Regions from separate parts of the Homo sapiens genome. Here all the other regions are linked to region 1. Evidence: promoter capture Hi-C in human tissues and cell types (Jung and others, 2019). All regions are on one chromosome and are shown on one strand. Each heading gives the region's core, a stretch centred on a gene start or on the middle of the fragment in contact. The rest is flanking DNA. Distances are from core to core; before and after follow the strand shown.

Region 1 (3,342 bases), core at 568-3,067:
GGTTTTGGTTTTTAAAAAGCCCAACTTTTTTTTTTTAATTTCCATAACTAAAGTGTTCAGACTGGAGTGCTCTCCTTCAGGCCTCTTCATAGCTGGGACGTTGCACTGGTCCTTTTATTGCTTTTCCAAGTACAACTTTCTAATGCTAGCCCTCCGTGGTGCTAGGTGGGCGTTGGCCAGGCCCCAAGCACAGCCACAGTAGACCTGGGATCTAAAACAAGTTTCTGTTTTGGGGGTTTGGGTTTTTTTTTTTTTTTTTTAATGTTTTGAATGGAATTTAGTTGCCTCCAAGAATTGTGCCTTATAGCATTTGGGGACCAGGGGGTAACTGCCCCTCCTGAAATATCCCTCAGCCTCTTCCCTTTTCCCCAGTGCTCTGTTCAAACCCGCCTGGGAAAGGGATCCTGCCCTTAGCCCTGGCTCGTTGTGCATTGCAGTGAGGCAAAGAAGAAAGCAGGTAGATTCCTTCCGACAGGGCATCAAGTTCTTCCCGCCCACGTCCTCTAGCCCACCCCTGGTCTGCTCCCCAGCTGTTTGAAGGATAGCACAAGCCCCTCGTCCCTAGAGCTTCTCTCCCTTTTATTTATTCTCTTAACATCCCTTTCCCCCTGGCCTTCCTGCCCCCGCCCCCTTCTCAGAGCCTCCTAGACAATAGGCCCTTTGGACCGAGTTTCTCAGGGATGCCCAGGCCACCCCTCAGCTCTTCTTAGCGCTGGTCTCCAGTCCTGCCCTGGGAGCTGGAGCCTGGGTATTTGGGGACATCTTGCCTCAGTTGTATGGTTCTTTCCTGTGGGCTCAATTTTGCCCTACATAGTTGGATAAAACTCTGTGCTGTCCTGGAGAGTAAAGCTGTTCACCCACACAGCTGGGCCCGGCTTGTGCCCCGTGGAGCCTGGCACATTCCAGGCTCCTAGGAGGAGGCATCAGAGAAAGACACCCTGAGTTTTACTGGCCTGACACCCTTCTCCAGAGAAGACCTGTGAACCTGAGCCCAAGGGCAAGTGTACACTTGTTTACTGTGTAAGCAAGAGTAGAAGAATGTCTAATGTACAGTGGAACCTTGTACAGAATAAATAATAGCTTTGAGAAATCAGTTGGCAGATGTTGGAATCTTGATTTGGGAGTGTTTGAATCTAGGAAGGGCTCCTAGTATATTAGGGGCCATCTATTTCATTGTTTCAACCAGTTTGTAAATTCCAAGTTTCTGGAAAAAGTTACCCACTTTTTAGTTTGAACATTTAAGTTTAATTTTTTAAAAACTGAAACAATACATATTTTGGACACTATATTCTTCATCTGGATTCACCAATTGTTTACAAACACATTTAAATATACAGCCATCCCCCAGTATACACAGGGAGATTGGTTCCAAGATACACACATACCAAAATCTGCACCATATTCAAGTCCCAAGGTCACCCCTGCAGAACCTGCGTATATGAAAATCAGCCTTCTATATATGTGGGTTTTGCATCTTACAAATGCAGTATTTTCTATCCTTATTTGGTTGAAAAAATCCACGTGAAAGTGGACCCACACAGTTCAAGCCCGCATTGTTCAAAGGTCAACTGTACTTTATTCTGTCTGCCGAAACATTTTCAGGTGAGGTGTTATATCACCACTTCTAAATACTTGAGCATACATCTCCTAAGAATCAGGACATTCTCCTATGTGACATGGTTTTCACATGTCCATTTTTTTTTTTAATGAACTGTCTACTTTTTAATGCTGGTATGGGCTACTCTCTTAATTCTTGGTTGAAACTCTTGGGGCTGGGCATGGTGGCTCACACCAGTAATTCAAGAAGTTGAAGTGAGAGGATGGCTTAAGGCCAGGAGTTTGAGACCAGCCTGGGCAACATAGTGAGACCCTGTCTCTATGAAAAAAGAAACACTTGGGTGTTTTCACAGACCTATGATAAGATAAAATACATCTCTCCAGCAGATGTCAAATATAGCAAAACTTGCTCTTAGAGCAGAGTATCATTACCTGGATGTGGAGTGACCAGGGCTTAGTCTTTTTTTTTTTTTTTTTTTTTTTTTGAGACAGAGTTTCACTCTTGTTGCCCAGGCTGGAGCGCAATGGCATGATCTCAGCTCACTGCAACCTCCATCTCCTGGGTTCAAGCGATTCTCCTGCCTCAGCCTCCCAGTAGCTGGGATTACAGGCATACGCCACCACGACCAGCTATTTTTCTATTTTTAGTAGAGACGGGGGTGTCTCCATGTTGGTCAGGCTGGTCTCGAACTCCTGACCTCAGGTGATCTGCCTGACTCGGCCTCCCAAAGTGCTGAGATTACAGGCGTGAGCCACCACGCCCAGCCAGGGCTTAGTCTTTGATAAGTCAAAGATCTCAGCTTTACCACCTAATACTTAGAAACAGTTACCTTTATGTTACAGGCTTTGTTCCCTAAAGTGCTTTTTCTCAAGACTTCAGATTTAACCCCTAAAAGAGGTGATGCCTTTGGTGCACTCGGTGACCCACGTCTCCTTTGGTGTCACCTCTTCATTAGCACTGTTCAGCTTTTCCATTTCTGCTGCTGGTCTTAGAACTAGGGAAGCTGAAGGCTCCACCAGGTGAGCCTGGAGTGTTTCATCAGGATTCTTCCTCACTGCCTTCACTGCTCCAGACACTGAAAAATAAAGGCCTGACTATTCCATCCTTGCTGAGACAGAAGCACCTGCTGTCACTTAAGGCCTGTGTGCTGCTATCAAACCCACCTCATGGAGGGGGACAGTTGTGGGGGCATTTTTCTAAGCATTTCCCAAGAGTGAAGAAGAGGGATTGAAAATGACAGTGACTTAAAACTTGGAATTTCTCCCTGAGGGACCCAAACTTCCCTGGCCTGCCCTGAGGGTGGCCTGACCCAGGCTGTGATTGGAAATCTTACCCTGATGATTGCCCCCAAGCCGCAGGCAAACAGGATCCCCTCAAAATAAAAACATGAGGCTTGTAGCAAAGTGAATGGCTGTACTCTGACTAGTTCTTCACTGGAGGTAGAAGCAGCCCTGTAATTTTTGCTGTCTTCCACTGGGGAACAGATGGACTCTAGGAGACATTGAGGGCAGGGGCTCCACTCAGGTCCGCCACCCTTGCTCCCAGCTCTTCAGTAATTAATCTGTGGTGCTTTCTCATCCCCATGGCAACAGGTCCTAGTGTTACACAGAGCACAAACACACGCAGGTCTGTCCCCACGTTTTTTTGTCCATCAAGCTTTGCCTCCTAGCAACTTGGCTCTCTTCCCTCATTGTTTGCTCTTGATCCAGCAGGCCTCTCCCTAGGGGAGGGGCTTCCCCTGCAACTGCTCTTGTGTGACCTTGAACAAGAACCTCCCTCTTTCT
Region 2 (3,342 bases), core at 369-2,868, 210 kb after region 1:
CCTGCCAAACCGCCACCCTCCCTGCTTCTGAGCACTGTGGTAAGAATGGAATAAGATGACAGGAATGAGAACGTCTTTATAATTAGGTCCAAGGGTATTGCTCAACCCTGCAGACACAGCCCCCTACTTTTTCATACCAGCCCTCACAGGTAGGAATCCTCCATAAACAAAAGAAGGAAAACTCATCAAGGACCACTCAAGGACCAGAGGTCACGGGATCTCTTTAGAAGATACAGCTTCAATAACCAATTGCACCTAGTATCCCATGGTGCTCACAGGTGTGGGGGAGCGTAGATCCTGACACCCCAAGAGTGCACAGTGAGCAACGGGCTGGGGCCCAGATTTTAGTGTTTCCACAGAGCCCACTGGTGCAGGACTTTCCGAACATGGGACACCCAGGCCTCATGCTTCTGGAGAGGCAACTCAGAGAGGGCCCACGGACTCCCCCTACCAGGCTGTTCCCTACCCCTTTTGCGCCAGCAGGGCCCCTCCCGCACGGAATAGGACAGCTCCACGAACTCGATGTCCACGGCTGAGCGCTTGGGTAGGTGGGAGAAGCGCTGGGCTTCAGTGATGTGGTTCTCCACCTTCTTCAGGTGCGTGGTCAGCACAGGGGGTTCCGCCCCGTCCTCCAGCGTCACGGCCATGGCCACAGCCCCCGGCCCTAGTCCACAGCCCACGGCCTCCAGCGCCTTCTCCGCCATCACGCCGCCGACCTGCAAGGGGAGGGCCTGCTCAGTTTGGGGCAGACCACCGAGCCCGGCTCAAAGCTCCCTGGCGTTCTAATGCTTCCCCCGCCCCCACTGCCCACCTCCTTCTCGGGGCAGATCCGCGACTGTTAGCCCCGCACTCTGCCCCCGCCCCCCACTCTCCGCACGGAGACGCTCAGTCCCGGGCAGCCCAGCTCCAGCCTGACCCCAGCCCGTCCCCTTGAAGCCCTCAATCGCTCCTTCCTCCCGGCGGCTTCTCTAATCTCCTTACCCCGCAGGCCAGCAGCCCCTGGGGACTGAAGGAATAGGGGGCGGGGGAGAAGAGGCAGCCGGCAGAGGCTGCCCGCTCTAGGAGGTCGGGGTAGCAGGGTGAGTGCAGGGCGGACCAGGGGAAGGCGGAGAGGAGGAGGCTTCAGGCCTCCGGCTGCGTCCCACTCCCCATCCCTTGGCGCGACGCCCAGGCCGGCCCCTCCCGCCGGCACCCCCGGGCCCGCGTGCCCCGGGCTGTCCCCAAAGCCAGGCGCACCACCCGGACTCAAAACTAAGCGCCCCACGGCAGCTCAAGCCCCCGCCCCATCTCCCGCATGCCTAGTCACCTTGACGCGCCCCCGGGCCGGTGCGGGGCCGGGATGCTCAGCGCTGCCACGGACCGGGGACGGAGAGCCGGGGCTCCCCTTACCTGCCTCGGGCTGCGGCACCCGCGTCCCGGCTCCCGGTCCCGGCGGCCCGGGCCGGGGCGGGGCCGGGGCGGGGCAGGCGAGGCAGGAGGGCCGGCCCTCGGCTCGGAGGAGACGGCAAGGATGGTGAGAGGCGGTTGGGGTCGCGCCCTGACTCTGCTGGGCTGTGCACACCCGCTTCCCAGAGCCTGGTCCCGGACGCTGTGTCCTCCGAGCCCGCGGGGCGACTGCGCTCTCCTACCAGCTACTGCTCGCCGGTCCCGCCGTTCTTAAAGGGCCCGCGCCGCCCGGCAGCCCGCGGGGGGCGAGGACGGCAAAGGAGAGAGCAGCGCTTGCGGCGCGGGGGCCGGAGGAGGTGCAGGGGTGAACTCAGGACTGGGGGTTGATGGCAAAGGGCCGACTTGGAGGCAGTGAGGAAAGGAGAGCTGGAGTCACTCCGTGGGGACAAGTCCCTGGAAGACAGATTAGGCAAGGGTGTTGGGGGTGGGGGAAAGTGGAGGGATTGTAAAGGTGTCAGTCTGTCTTCACACACGATACCAGTCCCCCAACAATTTCCCTCAGTTCCAGCCCATGAATGAGCGCAGGCCTCCCTCCAGGAATCCCCAAACGAGGTGCAAAGGCTTTCAAAAACGCAGGAGCCTTGGGACATTGGAACATCCTCCTGTCTCCCCATTCACACTTTCTCTGAGTTAGGACACTAATAAAGAAGGGAAAATGGCAGCAGCTTTGGGAGAGCCTGCAGTAGCTCCAGAGTTAAACTGGAACCCAGTGCTCAGCCTGCTCCGACTGTAGTCACCTAGCCAGATACAGGCCTTCAAGACAGGCACATGCCATATCCTGGAGGGACCTGTGTGCCAGGGCATGCACAGGGCTCGCAGACATGCCCTGGGCATCTCATGCACCTGCACATTCTCTCCCTTGCCCCCAAAGCCTTCAAATGTAGGTCCCCAGAACACACTTGGGGCTTTCCCCTGCTCTGCCCCTTTCTCAGCCAATTCCTCTTGGCCCTTGCCTGTCCCAGCCACTATGTCTTCAAGGGGTAAGTAGGTTAGCTAGCCAAGACACGTGATCTGAGCTTTTAAGTTCCCACCTGTCACACAGCAGAGACGATGGGGAGGGAAGGCTCTGAGGCTGCTGGTGTGACTGCCACCGCTGAGGCTTCTCCTTACTGCAGCAGTTGAGGGTTACTAGCAGTCAAACCTCTCCCCTGCTGGCCCCCCTCCCAACCACCTCTCCACAGCCCTAAAAGCTGGCGATCCCTGGAGGATTTCTCTAGGCCCCGCCCTGTTACTCTGAGGTTTGTGTGGGGTTTGGATCCAGTCTTTCCTATCTTCCCCCAACTCCATGCCCCACATCACCACCATTCCTCAGGACCAACCTCCTGTTCTCCAGATGGACCCTCCATTCTCCAAGTCAACTTCTCATCAGCTACTATAGACCTCCCCATCCCCCAACAGTTGCATTTATTAACTACTTTGTACCAGGCATTATGTTATTTAATCTTCACAATATCCCTATGCGACAGGTTTTACAACCCCCCTTTAGAGATGAAAAACTGAGGCATAGGGAGGTTAAGCAATAGTTGGTGGCAAAGCAGGGCTTGAATCCCAAAGTCCCTGATTTTACCCTGCTAATTGGGCCTCTCAGAACCTTATTCCCAAATGGACTGTCTCCCTCTATTTTCTAGACAGGCTCTTCATCCTCCTGAGATAACCTCCATGTCTTAATGCCACCCAGCTTTATTCTTTGGCACACAACTTTCTTTCTTTCTTTCTTTCTTTCTTTCTTTCTTTCTTTCTTTCTTTCTTTCTTTCTTTCCTTTCTTTCTTTCTCTTTCTTTCTTTCTCTCTCTCTCTTTCTCTCTTTCTTTGCTTCTTTCTTTCTTTCTGATATAGTCTCGTTCTGTCACCCAGGCTGGAGAGCAGTGGTGAGATCTCAGCTCACTGCAGCCTCTG
Region 3 (3,342 bases), core at 549-3,048, 190 kb after region 1:
GACAACCTGCCACTGCTTCAAACTTCTCCCATGTAAAACTGAACTCATCATTCCCCTCCTCTTGTCATTTACCTTGCTGCAAATCTTCCCACCCACGCCTTACATTAGAAACCTGACCTCTCTCTTCAAATCTTTCTTCCCTTGCTCCTTTAGGCAGTGTGAAGAGTCCTAGCAATTCCTCCCCACTGCTTTGCCAGCCAGTTGCTGCCCCGACCAGCATTTATTGGACCCGATCTCCTCACCAGCCTTTCTGCCTTCAGTCTCATCCCATTCTAATCCCTCACCCCAAGCACCAAGCACCTCCCGAAAAGTCCAAGGTTACTTATAGAGTCCAAACACTGGGCTCCCACAAGCTATTTTTCTGAGTTTGTCCCAGCCTGTGCCTTATACCCCAGGCTCACCGGATTCTTGCTCTTGCTGTCCTAAATTTGTTCATACACTCTTCCCAGTTTGGAATGACCTTTTTCCTCTGTTAGAGTCCCAACCAATTTTTTTTTTTTTTTTTTTTTTTTTTTTTTTTTTCCTGAGACAGGGTCTCTCGCTCTGTTGCCCAGGCTGGAGTGCAGTAGTACGATCTCAGCTCACAGCAACCTCTACCTCCTGGGCTCAAGCCATCCTCCTGCTTCAGCCTCCTGAGTAGCTAGGACTAAAGTGGTGTGCCACCACACCTGGCTAATTTTTGGCTTTGGTTTTTGTAGAGACGGGGTTTTCACCATTGTTGCCCAGGGTGGTCTCGAACTCCTGGGCTCAAGTGATCCGCCCGCCTTGCCCTCCCAAAGTGCGGGGACTGCAGGCGCGAGCCACCACTCGGGCCCCAACCAATCTTTTAAGATCCTGCTCAAAAGTCTCCGTCCCTGGGAAGTCTTTTCTGAGGCCTCTGAACTCACTTAAATGGAATGTGCCCCTATTTGGCACCTGGTCTCCTCCACTGAGATCGGGGCTTCTTGGGCAGGGTACGCTTAAGGAGAACTGGCTGCATTGGGCCACCTGCCTTAGCAGGGCCAACCAGCGGAGGAGCTGGCTGGGTGCTGGCCCGTCCCAGGGGCTGCGGAAGGGTTAAGAGAGGGCTCCAGAAGCCTGAGAAAGCCTAGGTTCCGGTTTAACCTCGGATCTAGGGCCACTGAGTCAAGACGGGACTTGCGGGGCCGAGGGCAGTTCTCCGGTGATCACCCAGGTCTCCAGGGCAATGAGAAAAGGAGGGGGCACTGCAGGAAACGTACAGGGGCGGTGTTCCTACAGGTCCAGAGCTCCTCCACCAAACTGGGTCCCAAACAGCTCTCCTACTTTCGGGTGGCCTCGGGAACGCAGGGGGAGACTTGCCAGAACGCCCGCCATTCAGCGCCCAGCTCCGTCCCTCTCGTTCTCGGCCGGGATCTCCCCGCGGCCCTTGCACAGCCTCCTCCCCCGGCCCGCCCTGCCCCCCGCTCAGCGCGGCCTCCCAGCCAGGGCGCAGGGGTTATCAAGCCCGCTAGGCCTTTACCCGCGGCTGCCCAGTTCCGGGAGCCGTCGGCCGCGGCCCAGAGGGGTCGGCTGGGCGGACGCCGGCGTCTCCCGCTAGCTCCCAGAGTCCCCGGCTCCTCGGCGTGGCGCTTCCTGCCCACCTCCGCCCGCCTGCGCGGCCCTGGCACCTGGCAGCGGGCGCGAAAGAGGACGAGCCCAGGCACTCGGGCCTGCGGGGTCCTGGGACGAGGGGGTCAGCGAGAGGGGCCCGGTGCTCCGGAGCAGGCGCAGGGCTGGAACCCCGGCGCCACCCGTCCCGCCATCGTCCCCCCTCCCTGCCTCCATCCCCGCGGGCACTGCCGCTAGTACTGCCCTCTGCAGGTTCCCAAGCGCCAGTGACACCCAGTGACCTCACTAACCACCTCCCAGGCTGGGCTGCTTGTTAGGCCCATTTTACAGATGAAGAAACTGATGCTCAGAAGGGTGAAATGACTTGTGCAGGTTGATTCAGTTAGGAAGTGGATGAGCCAGAACAACATCCCGGGCCTGAGTCTTCCTACCTTACCCCTGGGCCTCCCTGAGGCGCGGTGTCCAGGGGATTCTTCCCTCTGTCCCTCTCCGCCTCCCCAGCCTACCTTCAGGCAGAGACCTGAGCCTAAGGCTTCCTTGGGTTCTGCCTTATGTATCCGGTCCTCTTCAGAGCCCAGACCTATGTGTGTGGCTGCTGGTAACCTTGGTTAAGAAAGAAGGAAGAATGGGGGCTGAAGGACAACTTGCACCCCAACCTGCTCTTCGGGTCTGACACCCATTCATGGCCTAGCCCTGGGGCTTCCCAGTTCCCAAAGCCCCCACCCTTATCCCTACACTTCCACACACTTCCACACCCTGGGCTCACGTAGCCCAGAAGGAGGAGCCACCCACCACCCACAGCCAGGGCACGCCTTCGTATGCAAGCATGAGTGTACGATGTTCACACAACAGAGCTGTGCACTAGGGCACCCACAGAGAGGCTCTCCAGGGCAGGGCTGGGAAGAGGACTTACTGAAAACAATGTGGATGTTTCATTTAGACATTTGTTCATTCGTTGTACTGTGGTATTGGGTAGCACTGAGCACCTCACCCCCACAAGCCAGGTCCAGCACTAGGCCCTGGGCTGCCAACCACAGCAAGGCAGGCACCTCACTTTAATGGAATCAACTACCACATTTACAAATGATGTACTTCAAGGCCGAGGCAGGAGGATCACTTGAGACCAGGAGTTTGAGACCAGCCTGGGTGACATAGTGAGACCCTGTCTCTATTTAAAATGAAAATAGAAAATAAAAATATAAAAAACAGACAAACAAATGATGTACTTCAGTGGCAGAGGCAAGGCATTAGGAGAGTCTGGAAAAGGGAGTGCAGAGGAGGTAACATTTGTACTGGATCTGAAAAAATAAATCAGAGGACCAGCCGCGGTGGCTCACACCTGTAATCTCAGCACTTTGGAAGGCTGGGGGTGAGGGCAGATCTCCTGAGGCCAGGAGTTTGGGACCAGCTCAAACTCGTCACCATGGCCAACATGGTGAAACCCCCGTCTCTACTAAAAATAACAAAAATTGGCCAGGCATGGTGGCTCATGCCTGTAATCCTAGCACTTTGGGAGGCCAAGGCAGGCGGATTGCCTGAGCTCAGAAGTTCACGACCAACCTAGGCAACGTGGTGAAACCTCATCTCTACTAAAAATACAAAAATTAGCCGGGCTGGGTGGTGCATGCCTGCAGTCCCAGCTACACAGGAGGCTTAGGCAGGAGAATCGCTTGAATCCAGGAGGCGGAGGTTGCCGTGAGCCAAGATCACGCCACTGCATTCCAGCCTGGGAGACAGAGCAAGACTCTGTATCAAAAAAAAAAAAAAAATCAA
Region 4 (3,342 bases), core at 218-2,717, 150 kb after region 1:
AATTTTACCCTGGAGGAAATAACACCATTCTCTTAAAACGTGCCAGATACTTCTAATCACTTTTCATACGCAATATGAATTTTGTCAAAGTAATTAATTAAAGAATATGAAAAATACCAAGAAAACGTATTGAATTCTGACAAAGCGTCCGACTGCTTAAACAGTTAAATACTTGAGACTGACTACATTTCATCATATAGACACAACTATAAGGAAGTAAAATTCTCCCAAATGACAAACTTAGTGGCTAAATATAAAGGAGTTATTTTTGTTCGCACTTGCAAAAAGCAAACAAACAAAAAAGCGTAATCAAAGAAGCTCAACGAACAAGTTTAAAGTCAGGACCTGTAATAAGGAGTCAGAACCGTTACCAGAAAAAAAGAACCCAGCTCAAGCGATGTAGTAGGGAGGAAGTTATTAAGAAGTCAGAATCTGCTGCTGCTTAACAGGCTCAGCCAGTCCATCTTTCAGAAGATAATAGTTCTAACCAGAACTTGTGGTTTAATCAGTGCATATCTCAGCACCAGCAATGGATCACATCCAGTGTTTCTGAGGGTAACAAAAAACTTGAGCCGGCGCTAGATGGGGAGGAAAGTTCTTTCCTTGCCTCACTTAAACATCAATATGTCTTTTATCTTCGTGTTACATCTTAATGAGAAAGGACTATACTCTCACCCAGAGCACAGCTTCCCTGAGAGCTGTCCTGACCCCAGCCAGGTTCCTCAGTCAGAGCCCATGAACCTAATTCCCTAGTCAGATCTCACCCAGCCAAGAGCCCCAGCCGGTACATCACTCTTCCTCACCCCCTCCCTGCTAACCTCCCAGGCCAATTCCGTGACCTACATCCCTACACCCTGCACAGAGCCCCAAACTCCGCACCCCTCATTGTACTTCCGCCCCACTGACTTCCCAGTTAACCTTCGCCCCAGCCCCCACTCCATCTTTGTCTGGCTACCCCAAACGCGGCACCCCAGCGTTCCCCGACTCCCAACGGCAGCCCCTCCCCCACGCCGCCCCCCACCCTCCCGGCCTCGTCCCTGCCCCCACGCCCCCGGCCGGTCACCCCGGCTCCGCGCCTCCCCGGCTTCACCAGACCCGTCCCCTCCCCCGCTTCCTCCGTCCGCTCGTTCCCCTCCCCGCGGCCCTCCGCCCACGCCCACCCTGCAACAGCGGGCGCTCAGCCGGCCTTTCACCTTGTCCATGAGCTTCCAGCACTTCTCCACCATCTTCTTGTCCACCGTCCCCGGCGGGTGGGGGCTGAGGTGGTGGTGGTGGTGGTGGTGCGGCTGGAAGGCGTCCTTCATGAGCCCAATCAGGCCACCCGAACCCGAGCCCCCGGAGCCGCTGCCGCCCCCGGCCCCAGAGCTCTTCTTCACGTTGCCGGCCATGGCCTGGGCAGGGTCGGAGCCCAGGCGGGTCCGCCGGCTCGGCTCGACTGCGAGCGAGGGAGAGAAGCAGGGCGTGAAGGAGGGGCCTCTCCCGGCCGCCGCCGCCGCCGCCGCCGCCGCCGCCGCCGGCTATCCGGGCGGAGGGAGGAGCGGCCGTGGGGAGGGGAGTGGGCGGCGCCGGGAGTGCGCGGGACGCGCCCCTTCAGAGCGCGCGAGCCCGGGGCGGGCGGGGCGCGTCCCGGAGGCGGACCGGCTTACTGGTAAGCTCGGGGAAGCGGCCGGCCGCGGCCGGACTGGGCAGCGACGATCCCCGGGCCACCGGCTTCGAGCAGCTCGCGTGCCCACAGCTCCCGGAAAGCCGCGGCCAGGTTTCTGTGCCCGTCTTCCCCGCCCCTACGCCGGGGCGGGGCGGGGCCAGGCTGGGGCGGGGTCGGCGGAACCTTTGGGCCTGCGCCCTCTGCTGGAGAAACGGGGAAAGGAGCGGCGGGGGGTTGGGGAGTAGGTCCAAGGTGGAGTCTGCGCAGTAGCCAGAAACCAAGACTTCCATGCTCCTTGTGGGCGGGAGGTTGGCGCTTCTGGGGTGGGTCATGGGAATGTTTAAATTAAGACAGGTGGCGATGGAATGGAAGAGTCCTGATGTCAAGTCTTTCCCCACCCCTGACAAATGAGGAAATCGAGCTTAGAGTTATTTGTTTATTTACACTGTGGGAGGATGGTGGGAGAAAAAGGAAAGTTATTTCTCCACCCCTTATTATTTTCAATTCTTCATTAAGACACGACCAAGGACAGGAATATGAATGCTGCGGCCCATTCCAGCCGGATTAGGCCCCAGAAAGCCTTGAGACACTCAAGCCAGGACCTCTTCTTCCAGGCCCTTTGACCTCTTGAAAAGAAATCACTTCCTTTTTTTATTTTTTATTTTTATTTTTTTGGCTTGTGAAGACTAGTTACGTTTCTGGGAATTGAATCTCAAACATGTATTTAAGATTCTCCTACTCAGAGCATTGCACCACAGGTCGGCGCCGCCAGCATGAGGGCCCCCTCAGAAGCTGACCTGCTGCTGGCTCCGCCCGAGGGGGTTCTCTCTCCCGCCCAGGGAACAGAAATGCTGTTCCTGGTCACTTCCACTTCTCAGTCAATTACACTTCTCTAATGTAAAAGTTCCGTTGGAAGAACTTTGAAAATAGGAACTTCCCTTCCAAAGAGGGAAGTGCCCTGCCCTAATTTACTAATTCTGAGCCTCAGTTTTGGGAGTTTGCAGACCCAGGTGTGTCAGTATCAGTTCCGCCTTCGATCCCCCTCCAGGCTCTTCCACAAAGCCCTTGACAGATTAGGGAGTTAAATTTATCCGGTGCTCCTGTAAAGGGGAAAATATCTTTGAATGCAGGGACCATTCAGACAGGCATCCTGGGTTTGCAATTTAATCGCCTTTATCTAGAATTGATTTTGGAGTCAACATTATAATTTACTATCAGAAGAATTTCCTTTTATCATTTTCCATCCAGGAAGAGAAGAATCTACAAAGGGAAAATCTAGGCAAAGCTCCATCCCTTAGTGCCAACACCTAGTTGCAGGTCCTCCGTTTCTTTTCCCTGGACTATTGAATATTGAAACCTTTTCCTGTGCCTTCAATTCATCCTGCCACCATAGGCTTCCTAAAGTATAGTTCAGACAGCATCGCAAAAAAACTTTAAACACCTCCCATTGCCTCGGGAATAAAATTGACAAGTTGCTCTAACTCCAAGCTAAACAACCTTGTAGTTTTATACTACTCCCTGGTACACATGTCTTATGCTAGCTGACTCACCAAGTCATCAAATACAATTATTTCTTTTTTATTTATTTATTTATTTTATTTTATTTTGAGACAGAGTCTGTCACCCAGGCTGGAGTGCAGTGGCACAATCTTGGCTCACTGCAACTTCTGCCCCCCGAGTAGCTGGGATTACAAGTG

What was found. Contacts are between HindIII fragments. The study calls those that stand out against the background at their distance.
Region 2: a contact is called between the fragment with the promoter of ABCG4 here and a fragment that was not itself captured in region 1, in 1 of the 25 tissues and cell types used here (dorsolateral prefrontal cortex).
Region 3: a contact is called between the fragment with the promoter of NLRX1 here and a fragment that was not itself captured in region 1, in 1 of the 25 tissues and cell types used here (dorsolateral prefrontal cortex).
Region 4: a contact is called between the fragment with the promoter of CBL here and a fragment that was not itself captured in region 1, in 2 of the 25 tissues and cell types used here (dorsolateral prefrontal cortex and neural progenitor cells).

The regions. Positions count from the first base shown.
Region 1 is chr11:119,352,966-119,356,307 of GRCh38, reverse strand. It overlaps USP2 (ubiquitin specific peptidase 2), which reads left to right. Exons shown (of 13, transcript NM_004205.5): 13 at 1-1,093. Among named protein-coding and RNA genes, the nearest start is that of MFRP, 7.9 kb to the right of the region's middle. The HindIII fragment of the contact is 6,124 bases long and covers 1-3,342 here.
Region 2 is chr11:119,147,328-119,150,669 of GRCh38, reverse strand. ABCG4 (ATP binding cassette subfamily G member 4) reads right to left here and starts at 1,618. Exons shown (of 15, transcript NM_022169.5): 1 at 1,307-1,618; 2 at 467-716. The coding sequence starts at 704. RefSeq lists a silencer at 1,440-1,519 and an enhancer at 2,177-2,236. The HindIII fragment of the contact is 17,825 bases long and covers 1-3,342 here.
Region 3 is chr11:119,167,181-119,170,522 of GRCh38, reverse strand. NLRX1 (NLR family member X1) reads right to left here and starts at 1,798. Exons shown (of 10, transcript NM_001282144.2): 1 at 1,221-1,798. RefSeq lists enhancers at 298-1,002, 1,003-1,708 and a silencer at 1,280-1,889. The HindIII fragment of the contact is 23,273 bases long and covers 1-3,342 here.
Region 4 is chr11:119,204,464-119,207,805 of GRCh38, reverse strand. CBL (Cbl proto-oncogene) reads right to left here and starts at 1,467. Exons shown (of 16, transcript NM_005188.4): 1 at 1,194-1,467. The coding sequence starts at 1,388. RefSeq lists silencers at 950-1,009, 1,200-1,389, 1,460-1,849, 1,890-1,959. The HindIII fragment of the contact is 26,271 bases long and covers 1-3,342 here.